Regions from separate parts of the Homo sapiens genome. Here all the other regions are linked to region 1. Evidence: promoter capture Hi-C in 16 types of primary human blood cells and fetal thymus (Javierre and others, 2016). All regions are on one chromosome and are shown on one strand. The core of a region is centred on a gene start or on the middle of the fragment in contact, and the rest is flanking DNA. Distances in the headings are between cores, read along the strand shown. Region 1 holds the start of HTR1E (5-hydroxytryptamine receptor 1E). Region 2 has its middle 110 kb from the start of SNHG5. Region 3 has its middle 150 kb from the start of SNHG5. Region 4 has its middle 200 kb from the start of SNHG5.

Region 1 (3,283 bases), core at 339-2,838:
ATTCAGCAGGAAAGCAACTGTACCAGAAAGAGAAAAGCTGTCTCAATCTTCTCTGTATTTCAAAGGTATTTCACATATGCTCCTCATGAAGGAGACCGCACAGGGAATCAGACCCACGTGCCTGCTTTGCCTCTCTTGCGCAGGATTAAGTAAGGGAAGCCCCTGATTCACAAGTGCATCCTGGCTGTTTAAGGTTATGCATATTGTGTCTGAATGTACAACTATGATAAATATATATTCTGGAGCAATGTTAAATTCAGCTTAGGACGATGTACTGCTTAGAGCTTTGAGGGAAAACATAAGAATGATAAAATGAGCCTAAATTATTTTGGAAAAAACACTGCTCCCCCAACCCATTTGACGATCTATTATTTCCTCCTGGGCTGCTCCCTCCCCAAGAGATTTGGTGCAGGAGGCAAGGAAGGACAATAAGAAAGGTTAGGAAGAAACACCTTGGGATGCTGACACCATCTGCCTTATCCTTCTAACTCAAGGACAAGCAGCGTTGGGTTGAATACAAGGTCCTTTCTTCCAAAACTGGGCACAGGCAGAAATATACATATAGATGCAAAACCACTATGATCCTGTGATAGGAGCTGGAATCACTTCCCTTTAGACTCAATTTCCTTTCCTTTTCGTTAGGTAGGGGGTCAGCCTCTCACCTTGCAGTATTGGGTGGAGATGGCTTAAGACCAAACTTCTCATCTTAACTCTTACTTCCAAGATTTATTTTGTATTTTAAAAAAAATGAGCCTGCCTCATTACCTCCACACCTGGGCATTTTGTTTATCAGGACTGAGCACAGTATTATTTTCTGAGGGCTGGAGCAACAGTGCAGTCCTTTCTAATCAAAGGTTTTTTAATCAGCTGGCTTTGAAATCACACAGTTCTTCCGGGGTCCCTGGAGCACACCACCTCCCTGTGATTTCTACTCAAGTTTTCCCTGGCCCCCCCCAGCACCCGTTCCATACCTATTTAATCTTTAAGCTGCCTCTAATCCTTTTGCAAGGAAGCAGGATGAAATGCTCAAACCACAGTTATACACAATGTTGATTCTCAGGTTCACACATTTGAGGAATTGTTTGAACAAGAAATGCTCTCTGTACTATAATCCAGGGTGCAGGCACGGTGCCCGGGCGACCCTCAGTCTCCCTCCGACACCCCGCATCCCAACTCCCGCCGCCTTTGCGCCTCAAAGCTGGCAAACATCCCCAAGCCAGAGCTGGAGTACCTGGAGTGGGTGGGGGTAAGAAGGGAAGCCAAGGTCGTCCCGGAAGGTGTGCGCCCCTCACCTTGTGGACGGTGCGTGCAGCCGCGCCGCACTGGGCAAACCGGCACGTCCAGCTGGCTCCAGAAGTCTCACTCGGAACCCGCTCCTTTTTCTCCTGAGCTGGATCAGAGCACTGCTTCTCTCAACATTCGATTCTGGAGTACGTTGAGCCCAGGGCGTTCTCCCCGCCAGCGTCCTTGCCCGCGCCAGTGCCCGCCGGGGTGCGGCGAGACAGAACCTGGGAGCGCGGCGCGCCGGGCAGCCCGAGGCACCGCTGGTGGCAGGCGCTGCGCTTCGCCGAGTCTGGGCGCCTGGACTGGAAGAGGAGGCGAGAGGGAGAGAGCGGGGAAGAGGAGGAGGAGGAGCAGGAGCAGGAGCATGGGCAGGGGCAGTCTGCTAAATCATCTACGCAGGTCGCAGCCTCCCGGGACACCGTGAACGGAGAGGGGGGTGGTGGGTGTGGGATGAAAAGATGAGCCCGGGTGTGAGGCAGGTGGTATTGTGAACTGGAGGTCGCAGCTCCGAGGTACTCCAGGTCTTGCTTAGGTTATAAAAGAGAAATTCTGGAGCTGATGGCGCCTTAGGGCTCCCGGTTGCAGACACTAGAGGGCAGGGCTGTCCATGTTATAAACCGGGCCAGCGGGGTTGGAGGTGTGGGCAAGGGACTCACCTCCTGAGCCCCTTGCCGGCCACAGCCCTGGCGGAGAAGGGGAAAATAGATACAACAAGGGGGCAGACCCTACTCCCTTCTTCTGTAGCGAGCCTGGGTTGAGGAGGGAGAGGAACGGCGGGAGCAGTTGACGGGTTTGCACGCTTTCTCTACGCGGTTCCAATGGCAAACAGACCCTCTGGAGGTGCATTTCTTAGCCCTCCTCCAGGGGAGATTACAGTCAACATCCACAGGATGCCTCAAGGAGAGAGATTACAAGGAAGGGGTGAGGGAGAAGTGGACGAAAATTGGGGTGGGTCAAAGTGGAAGGGGGGAAGAGAGGTGGGGAAAGCAGTGAAGAAAAGGAGACGGAGAGTGGAGTGGTTGGGGCTGAAAGACCTGCTGAAGCAGCCTTGCCATTTTTTTTTTTTTTGAGGGAAGTCTACCTGGGCGCCATCTCAGGTTGTCAGAGGGCTTTGTGCTCTTCTGAGGGTGCCAGGGGCTGTTCTTTTTGTTGTTCTGCTGCCGCAAGGTCAGAAAAGTTAAGCTGGGAGGGACTTTGCAGAATCCTGGCATTGCTAAAAGAAGCTTCCTTACGGCTGGTTGGTTATTCTCTGTGGAGAACTTGGGTGACTCAACATTGAAGCCTAACATGGATTGAGCCCCTGCCATTGTAAAAAAGAAAATCAGATTGTTCAAACTAGCCATAAAATGAACTAGACAATCTTATGGAGACAGTATGATCTGTAGACAGCCTGATACACAAACCTTAGAGTTGAAAGGACCTTGGAAACCATGTAGGCAACTTGGGTAGCTGCCCCAAACACCTGCCTCACACTTTTCTTTCTGGTTTGTAGCCTTATGGCTGATTTGAAAAACACTTTAAGTTATTTATTTATTTTTTGAAGTTTGACAATTCTAAACCAAATGAAACCCTTCTTCAGTTCAAAAAGCGAGCCTGTGTGCCCTTCTCCTGCCTTCTAGAGCGCCTCTCAAGGCCAGCAGGGGTTGACTGATGGATTATCAGGGGAATTTCACTGAACAAGAGAAAGGAAGGTTGGTAAACTATAGTCTTAAATTGTGATTTGCTTCTGTTAATCCCATTAAACTGAGAATAGGCTTAAGTAGACTGAAGTCTAACAGGAGGATGAGGTGGAAATATGTTTTCCTACTAAAGATGACACATCTTGAAGTTTGTTTGATGATAAAGGTGTTATGTAAAAATAAGCAGAACAAGAATCATTCCTCATTTTAAAAAAGAATCTTATAGGACTGAAGATATTTTAGATATCCCAAGAGAGTAAGTAAGGACATTGTTCTACTCTTGCAAGTTTGGAGTTCCTCCAAAATATAAAGGAAATATG
Region 2 (3,283 bases), core at 228-2,727, 1.1 Mb after region 1:
AGAAATATCATCACCTCTATTCAGTCTGAAGAAGTTATAGAAGATGGATCTTCATCCTTCTGCAACCCTTAGAATTAAGGGTCCCCTTGTAAAAGGGAGGGGGGAATATGTCCGAGGCATTCCATCCAGAGTGACTCCATCTTGAATAGGGGCTGTGTTTTAGTCGAGTCTCACACTGCTATAAAGACATACCTGAAACTGGGTCATTTATAAAGAAAAGAGATTTAATTGACTCACAGTTCTGCATGGCTGGGGAGGCCTCAGGAAAATTACAATCATGGTGGAAGGTGAAGGGGAAGAAAGGCACGTCTTCACATGGCCAGAGCAGGAGGAAGAGAGAGTGAAGGGGAAAGTTCTACACACTTTCAAACAACCATATCTCATGAGCGCTCACTCACTATCATAAAAACAGCAAGGGGAAAATCCACCCCCAAAATCCAGTCACCTCCCACCAGGTACCTCCCCCAACATTGAAAATTACAATTTGACATGAAATTTGGGTGGGGATACAGAGCCAAACCATATTAGTCTGGATAAAATAAGCCTGAGACCTACTGGGCTGCATTCCCAGGAGGTTAGGCATTCTTAGTCACAGAATGAAATAGGAGGTCAGTACAAGATATAAGTCACAAAGACTTTGCTGACAAAACAGGATGTAGTAAAGAAGCCTGCCAAAACCCGCCAAAACTAAGATGTCAATGAAAGTGACCTAGTCATCCTCACTACTCATTATATGCTAATTATAATGCATTAGCATGCTAAAAGACACTCCCACCCACACTATGACAGTTTACAAATTCCATGGAAATGTCAGGAAGTTAACCTTTATGGTCTAAAAAGAAGAGGAACCCTCAGTTCTAGGAATTACCCACACTTTTCCTGGAAAACTCATGAATAATCCACCACTATGATCAAAAAATAAGTATACCCAGTCAAGCCGCCCATGCTGCTGCTCTGGCTATGGAGTACCCATTCTTTTATTTCTTTACTTTCTTAATAAACTTGCTTTCATTTTAAAAATAAAAAGAAAGAAAGAAGGAGGCTGGGCACGATAGCTCATACCTGTAATCCCAGCACTTTGAGAGGCCAAGGCAGGCGAATCACCTCCAGGTCAGGTGTTTGAGACCAGCCTGGCCAACATGGTGAAACCTCGTCTCTACTAAAAATACAGAAATTAGCCAGGTATGGTGACACATGCCTGTAATTCCAGCTACACAAGAGGCTGAGGCAGGAGAATCACTTGAACACAGGAGGTTCAGGAGGTTGAGGTTGCAGTGAGCCAACATCATGCCACTACACTCCATTCTGGGCAAGAGAATGAGACCCTGTCTAAAAAAAAAAAAAAGGGAGAGAGAAAAGAGAATACTAAAGATAGAGTATAGCTACATAAAGAAGGTAGGGCACTCCAACATTTAAAGAAGAACAACCAGCAAAGAAAACTGAAAAGAGTGGCCAAGAAGGTGGCAATAACACTAGGAGAGTGAGAGACCGCAGGCACCAAATGAGAAAAGTGTTTCAGAGAACAGAGGAGGAGATAGTGATTAACTGAATAAAATGCTGCTAAGAAGTTAAATAACCTAGACAGAAAGAGACCATTAGCAGTACCACCTTGTATTCATCAGGGTTTTCTAGAGAAACAGAGCCAATATGACATATATAGATATACAGAAATAGATTTATAATGAGGGATTGGCTCAAATGATTATGGAGGCTGAGAAGTCCCACAATCTGCTATCAACACACTGGAGGCCCAGGAAAGCCAGTTCTACTCAAAGCCAAAAGGCTGAAGAACCAATGGAGCCAATAATATAAATCCCAGTATGAGTCTGAAGGCCCATAAACCAGAAGCATCTATGTCTGAGAATTGGAAAAAATGAATGGTTCAGCTCAAACAGAAAGGGTAAATTTGTCCTTCCTCCACATTTTGTTCTAGGCAGGCCCTTAATGGATTGGATGATGACCAACCATATTTGTGAGGGTAGATCTGCTTTACTTATTAGACTAATTTAAATGCTAATCTCTTCTGGAAACATCTTTGCAGACATGCCCAGAAATAATTTTCTGCCAGCTATCTGGGTATTCCTTAGCCCAGTCAAGTTGACATATAAAATTAACCAACACACACTCTTAGAACTAAGCAAGGAGCTTTTGGCAAGTTCCACTCTGATACTCCTTCAGCTGTCTATGGGGCAAGGATTCCACAAGGCCAAAGGGAGGTATCAATCAGAACCTACATCCTTCAAGATTATATATGCATACCCAGAACTCCCTGTCTCAACAACCTCAAGCCACTTTCAAGCCGGCTTGAGCCTTGTTATTGTCTGAATGTTTGTGTCCCCCAAAATTCATATGTTAAAACCTAATTCCTAATGCAGTAGTATTAAGAAATGAGGTCTTTGGAAGGTGATTAAGCCACATGGATGGAGCCCTCATGAATGGGATGAATTCCCTTAGAAAAAAGACCCATGGTTTCTTGTTCATCCCTTCTGTCATATGAGTACATAGCAAGAAGGAACAATCTTAGAAGCAGAGAGGGCTATTTCTTACCAGACATCAATCTGCTAGTGTCTTGATTTTGGACTTCACAGCCTCCAGAACTGTGAGCAATAAATTTCTGTTATTTATAAATTAAGTAGATTAAGAACATTTGTTATAGCAGCCTGAAAGGACCAAAATGGGCCTCATCCTCAGGTCTGTTTTGACAGGTGACTGAGCTGGTGTACACATCTGTTGGCTTAAGGGGTAACCAAAGGACAATTGATTTCATGGGGTGAGGTCACAGTTGTGATGCCTGAGCTGGGGAGTCCATTCTTGTGCATGCAAGGCTGTTTCAAGATTGTCTCTTTTCCCCAGGGCTTCCATAACAAATTACCACAAACTTGGTGGCTTACAACAACAAAAATTTATTTTCTCAAATTTCTGGAGACCAAAAGTTCAAAATTAGGGTATTGGCAGGGTTGATTCCTTCTGAAGGCTCTGAGGGAAGATCTATTTGCTATGTTTTAAATATCTGTGCCATGCAAAACTCACATTGAAACTTACTCTCCACCAGGCATGGTAGCTTATGCCTGTAATCCCAGCACTTTGGGAGCCTGTGGCAAGAGGGCCACTTGAGATAAGCAGTTCAAGACCAGACTGGCAATATAGTGAGACCCCATCTCTACAAAAAAAATTAAATGGCCAAGTGTGGTGGCCTACACCTGTAGTTCCAGCTACTCAGGAGGTTGAGGTGGGATGATTGCTTAAGCTTTGGAGATAAAGATTTCAGTGAACCATGATCATG
Region 3 (3,283 bases), core at 444-2,943, 1.1 Mb after region 1:
TATATCTATTTCTTGTTGAATTTCTCATTCAGATCATCAATTCTGTTTCTGCTTTGTATTATTTATCTGTGTTTTCTTGTATCTCACTGAGTTTCTTTAATATCATTATTATTTTTCAGGTATTTTATAGATTTCCTTTTCCTTAAGATTTCTTTCTTTGGAATAATTGCATTCTTTGGAGGTATGATCTTTCCTTGCTTTTTCATGGTTTTTGTGTGTCATTACATTGATATCTATGCATATTGTGTGACAGTTGTTTCTTTCCTTTTTGTTTTTTGTTTTTGTTTTTGTTTTACTTTTGAGACAGTATCTCACTCTGTGCCCCAGGCTGGAGTGCAGTGGCACAATATCAGCTCAGCGCTACCTCCACCTCCCAGTCTCAAGCAAATCTCCCACCTGAGCCTCACAAGTAGCTGGGACTATAGGCATGGGCCATCACACCCAGCTAATTTTTATATTTTTTCATAGAGATGGGGCTTTGCCATGTCATTCAGGCTGGTCTCGAGCTTCTGAACTCAAGTGATCCACCTGTCTCAACCTCCCAAACTGCTGAAATTAGAGGCATGAGCCATCATGCCCAGTCCTGTTTCTTCCACTTTTATGTAATAGCCTTTGTAGGGAAAGACTTTTTCCTATAGATGTAATTATAGTGTTGGGTGGATAGAGTGCTTTGGCTTTGATTCTGGATGGATGCAGTTTAGTCTCTGTATTATTTCATTGGCTATAATCAGCCTCAGTGGTGTCCATGAGATCTCCAGTGGCTTAGGCTGCAGCTGTTAGTGGAGACTGTAATAAGGTTTTGCTAGGGAGAGGGATTCCAGACAGGCCAGCCCTTGGGCAGCAGTGATGGCAACAATGGTCTGGTCGTGCCATTCCTTGGACCTCCTGTGCAGTGTACATGGGAACTAGTGGTAGTTAATCCAGGCAGGCCAGTCCCTGGGCCTCAAGGCAGTTTGCTTGTGTATTGACCATTGCAGTGATGGGCAGAATGAGCAGGTGGATCCTAAAGCCCCTGGATGATATTCATAGCATCAATAGTAGTAGTAGGGGCATCAGGCAAACCCTTGGATCCTTGAGTGGCACATGTGAGCACCAGCAGTGGCAGCTGTGGACTGGATAGGCCAATCTCCAGGACCCCAGGAATCATATGCAGGTGGGTACCAGCAGCAGTGACAGTGGCAAGCTGGGTGGGTCAGTCCCCAGGCCCTCAGGAAATGCATGCGGCCAGTGGTAGAAGATGTTACATGACCATCCTCAGGCCCCCAGAAGGCATGTGCAGGCCCTGGCACCAACAGGTGGAGTGGATTCTCCCCAGGTCCCTGGATGGCACACTTGAATATCAGTGGCAGTGATGGTGGTGGGGTAGGCCTGTCCTCAGGCCTCTGGATGACACATGTATATACTGGCAGTGGCAGTATATGGGGTGGACATGCCCTTAGGACCCCCAATGGTGCACGTGGATACCAGCTGCAGCAGGCAGGGTAGGCGAATCCCCATCCCTGGAAAATATTCTCAGGAACTAGCAATAGTGACATTGAGGGGACAAGCCTTTCCTCAGGCCACCAGGTGGTGTGCGCAAGAGCTAGTACACCTCACACGGGCCTGTGGTAGGCCCTGGGACAGTTCCTGGGAGGGCTGTTCCCCAGGAACCCTGAAGGACCATGCAGGTGCACAGTGGCCCTTCTGCTGGAGGGAGTCTAGTTTCTATCAGAGTCCACAGCCCAGGCAGGCAGCACTCAGACTCTTAGGAGCACACACCTTTGCTCCCTTAGTCCCAGGGTTGGCATCTCTGGTGCACTGCGCCACCCATTTCCTGGGATGTAGAATACTGCATAGGCTAGAGTGCTGGGAATCCAGCCGCATCACTGAGTCCAGCCAATGTCATGACACTTCAGCCCTCTGGGTGGACATGGGTTGGGGGTGGTCAGCATGGTTCCAGGGATGTGGCAATATCAGAACTATTGGGACTCGGGAGAATGCAGTCTGGTGAGGGCTGGGCTCCTAAAATGGCTCTGTGCTGTAGCTGCTTGTGTCTCAGGGGATGTGTGGGACCCAGGGCAAACTCCCTCTCTGGAACAATGCCATCACATGGACTCCAGGCAGTTCCCCATACTAGTTTCAGGGCCTGTAAGGGCCAAGGGTATCTCCCATGGCTAGGATTTCAGGAGTCTACCTACAGTGGGGATGTGGACTGTTGGGAATCTCTAGCTTACCTTTCCCCACAATGGGGAGTCCCTCCTGGCTTCAAGCCAATCTCAGCCAGGCCAGCTGCTTTGCTTTTTTCTCCTTCCATGCCTCAGAGGGTCCCTGTCCCTTCCCTCCTGAATTCCAGTATTCTTCAATGCTCTATTGGACATGTGATTATCTATTCATGCTTAATTTCTCTTTGTGGAGGAGGCAAGTGCCAGGCATCTCTAGTAAGCCATCTTGAAGCCCCCATCTCGTCTTCTACTTTTGACATAAATAAAGAAGTAACTTGTCAGATAAAATGACTGATTTTTAAGAAAGAACAATAATACAACTATTTCTTAAAGAACTACCTTGATTGAATAATGAATATTCCTGCTTGAGTCCAACACTGTTTATTCCATTATCAAAAATAAAGTTATACATAGGGAATGTCACTTTTACCACAGCATAGAAAGTTTATCACTACCATAATTTGTGACAAGAAATAGTGACTCAACTTCTCTTCAACTTAAAATCTGGGCCTGAACACAGGGTCAGATGCATAACAGATATCAAGTAATATATATGGAATGTTTTAGTTTCCAAGATGGCTGACTGGAAGCATTTCCAGCATGCCTCATCCACTTAGATGAACCAAAATAATGTGTAGACAATCATATTTTGAATATATTATTCAAGATAAAACATAGGAGTTAAACAGAAAAGTGAAAGGAAACTTTAAAATCTAGGAAAAAGAAGGAAAACAGACAGCCCACATGGCTAGGAAAATCTAGGAACCAGAAGTGAATGCCAATACAGGACAGGGTAAGTGCTTTCTGCAATCTACTTTTCCATGAATCCAGGCCACAGGAGAGTACCTTGACTCACCCAGTCCCTGAATCTAAGTTAGGAAGCAGAAGGGAGATTACCAGAGGGAACTGCACAGGAAGTGTCACATGCCTTTTTGAGACCTAACCAGCTACTGTAAGATGTCATTCCTGACCCTAGCTCTTCACAAATTGCACATGGTCCTGGGATCCTGGGAGCCAGTGGTATCACTGTTAGCTGTTAAAAAAAAATCTGGAAGCATTTGCAGAACTGTGGCTTCAGTGGG
Region 4 (3,283 bases), core at 581-3,080, 1.1 Mb after region 1:
TCCTTACATGTGTATCTCTCTCCACAGAACTTCTTGTGTATCCTCACAACACCACATTTGACTTGCTCTGGGTAAATGATTCAAGAAGGAGCAAGGTGGAAGTTTCGATGTCTTTATGAATTATCCTCAGAAGGCATGCTTTGTCATTTTTACAATATCTTGTTAATTAAACTGGCCTTCCTATTCAGTGTTGGAGGGAACTGCCCAAGGACATGAATATCAAGACTCAAGAATCGTGGGGGGTCATTTCAGAAACTGGCTATGACAGAGGTTTAACATCCGAGTAATAGGAATCCTTGCAAAAGAGACAAGAGGAAGTAAATAGTCAGAGAAATAATACAAGAAAACAAAATACAAGGAAATTTTCCAAAACTGAAAACAAAGACTTTACAGATTGAAATGACCCACCAACCACCCAAAATAATAGAGGGAAAATTTTAGAACACTGAAAACAAAAACAAGCTTTCAGGGGAAGGAAAAAATATCACCTACAAAGGATCAGGAAACACAACAGCTTCATATTGATCAATGGCAACACCGAAAACTAAAAGGAATTGTGATCAAAATTATCAAGGAAAATTATTTCAACCTGTAATCCTATACCTAGTCAAACTGTCAAAATAAATGTAAAGTAAAATAAAGGCATTCAAATTCTTTAAAAAATTGTCTCCATTGCACTCTTTCTCAGAAAACTACCGCAAGAGGTATCTCTACTAAAATGAGGGATTAAAATAGGAAAGAGCATTGTGGAGATACACAAAATAATAGCAAAACAAGCAAAAGGATTCCCAAGGACAATGGCAAAAGAAGATCTCAGATGAAACTCTATCAGACATAGAGGAGATGTGAATTGGGGGAGAGACGGGGAGAAGAGCATTAAAGCTTCATTTTCTACTGTGAGAAACCAATAGATAGTGTCTAAAAAGTTAAAGAAGTAGTAATATAAATATGTTTCTTAGATACATGGAGGTAAATAGTAAAATAAGAATCATCTTAAGGAGGTGAAAAGTATAGTAGCTTTTGAAGAAAGGGAATAATGGGGAGGAAATGAGCTTGCTGTTACTTATAAGAATTGTGAAATTATTTGATTCTTTAAATTACGAATATACAGTCATGCACTACATAATAACATTTCAGTCAACAACAGATGACATATACAGCAGGGGCCTCATAAGATGATAGTGGAGCATATATAAAAACCTGATCTATTGCACTTGATTTTGGCATCACATATCAAGTAGGGGAAATGATTGATATTTAGTAATGATGCTGGAAATTTGGTTTTCCAGATAAAAATATATGTATAAATAAAAATATATATACCACCTAGGCTAATGTAAGTACATTCTATCATGTTCAACAATGACAAAATCTCCACGTGACACATTTCTCAGAATGTAGCCTCATTGTTAAGCAATTCAAAACAGTATAAAACTGATAATGTTCTTAATAACTGGTAATTTTAAGAGACAGAGATATTAAGAAGAGATGGCCCCTTTTCTATCTCTAGTTATCTTGGATTTTAAGCATACATGTAAAGATATAACATATACTATGCCAAAGATTCTAGACTTCTTTTTTAAAAATTATAATGGGATGAAGACTTGATGGACTGGTAGAGAAAGGAAAGGGGGAAAAAAAAGTTCAAAATCCTAACTTTAAAAGGTCTGTTATTCACAAGATAAACATGTCAAGCTATTTATCCAGAAGGAAAGAAAAGCAATTTATGTTTGTAATTATAGCTATAAACTTAGCTATTCCCTTAGCCAATGAAAATCACAGTGTTCAGATATTAATTAAAATTCTTTTAAATTTCTTCATGAATGATTTTGCATATCTAAAAGTATAATTTAAATATTTCTCACTGCACCATTCTGTTCTTCATTGACTTGAAATTATTTAAGTACAACTCAATTTTCCACTGCTACATTTTTCCACTGCATGGAAGGTAAGGCCAGAAGACAATTAATCAAAGCTGGTAAATTAATGCCTTGCCATCAGATTCACTTTAACTATACTAAATGTTTCACATATTATAATATTCCATTATTACTTTATGTACTCACTAGTTTCCTGGTTCTCTAATTAGTGAAATATCAGCCAGGTTTTTATTTTGCCATCAAAATGTTTGCCTATTTAGTTCATAATCTTGTTACTTTGCACACAAAGCTAACAAATAGGTATAGTTCATATTTTTCTCTCAAATTTCTGGCGAAAAAAGTGTGCTTTTATTAGAATTGTTAGCAAGGCGAATTTTCTTTTAGTTGATTTTGTGTCTTTTGACAGTTTAATGTGAAATCAGTCTTCTCAGAATGGAGGACAGAATAAATCTGAAGAGATTCATTGAAAATATTTGGTTAATTTTTAATTAACTACTATATCTATCACATCATACATACCAAATGTATCAGTCAAGTTGGATTCCACTTGTAATACTGGTGTAAGAAATAATGACAGTTAATCATCTAACATATAATAATCTGGAGACAGTTGGTTCTAGATTTAGTACAATGGTTCAGCAATGTCATTAAGGGACTTTCACTGTGGTATCTTCGATGTGTTGGTTTTTAGGCTTTTAGACTTTAACACCTGTAGACTGTCAACTCAGAGTTCCAAAATTGCTGCTACAGATTGAAACATCACATTCTTAAACCAACATCATGAGCAGGAGATAAAGGATAAATGGATGAATCATAAAAGAAAATTTTTTCTCAACAACCCCAAGCTGACTTTCCTTCATGCCAAGTCACATGACAACACAGCTTCAAGGAAAGCTTGGCATATGTCAGTGGAATTTCCACAATTGTTTAGATGAATTGTGATTTATCTTCTAGGGCTATGCATTAGTTTCCTATTGCTAGTGTAACAAATTACCATGAATGTAGTGAACTAAAACAACACAAAGTTATTGGCTGACAATTTTGGAAGTCAAAGTCCAAAATGAGTTTCACAGGACTGAAATCAAGGTGTTGCAAGGGCTGAGTTTCTTCCGAAGGCTCTAGTGGAGAATTTCCTTGTGTGTTCCATCTTTTAGAGGCTGCCTGCATTTCTAGGCTCATGATCCCTTTTTCACTTTGCTCTAACCTCTGCTTCCATCATCATATCTCCTCTGACTCTCTTGCCTCCTGTTTTCTCTTAAAAAGACTTTTGCAATTACATTGGGTCTACCCAGATAATCCACAATTATCTCCCAATTTCAAGATCCTTAATCACATCTGTAAAGACCCTTTTGTCATAAACAAAAACATATTCACAAGTTCCCAGGACTAGAAAGTGGTGGTCT

The links. The method cuts DNA at HindIII sites, captures the fragments that hold promoters and counts their contacts. A CHiCAGO score of 5 or more calls a contact.
Region 2: a contact is called between a fragment that was not itself captured here and the fragment with the promoter of HTR1E in region 1, in 1 of 17 cell types (endothelial precursors). The highest score is 6.0, in endothelial precursors.
Region 3: a fragment that was not itself captured here is called in contact with the fragment with the promoter of HTR1E in region 1 in 1 of 17 cell types (endothelial precursors); the score reaches 7.8 in endothelial precursors.
Region 4: a contact is called between a fragment that was not itself captured here and the fragment with the promoter of HTR1E in region 1, in 1 of 17 cell types (endothelial precursors). The highest score is 5.2, in endothelial precursors.

The regions. Positions count from the first base shown.
Region 1 is chr6:86,935,833-86,939,115 of GRCh38, reverse strand. It overlaps HTR1E (5-hydroxytryptamine receptor 1E), which reads right to left and starts at 1,588. Exons shown (of 2, transcript NM_000865.3): 1 at 1,293-1,588. RefSeq lists enhancers at 694-1,248, 1,249-1,804. The HindIII fragment of the contact is 4,175 bases long and covers 1-2,509 here.
Region 2 is chr6:85,789,821-85,793,103 of GRCh38, reverse strand. No RefSeq gene overlaps it. Among named protein-coding and RNA genes, the nearest start is that of SNHG5, 110 kb to the right of the region's middle. The HindIII fragment of the contact is 3,544 bases long and covers 1-3,249 here.
Region 3 is chr6:85,825,114-85,828,396 of GRCh38, reverse strand. No RefSeq gene overlaps it. Among named protein-coding and RNA genes, the nearest start is that of SNHG5, 150 kb to the right of the region's middle. The HindIII fragment of the contact is 3,718 bases long and covers 1-3,283 here.
Region 4 is chr6:85,879,747-85,883,029 of GRCh38, reverse strand. No RefSeq gene overlaps it. Among named protein-coding and RNA genes, the nearest start is that of SNHG5, 200 kb to the right of the region's middle. The HindIII fragment of the contact is 1,892 bases long and covers 885-2,776 here.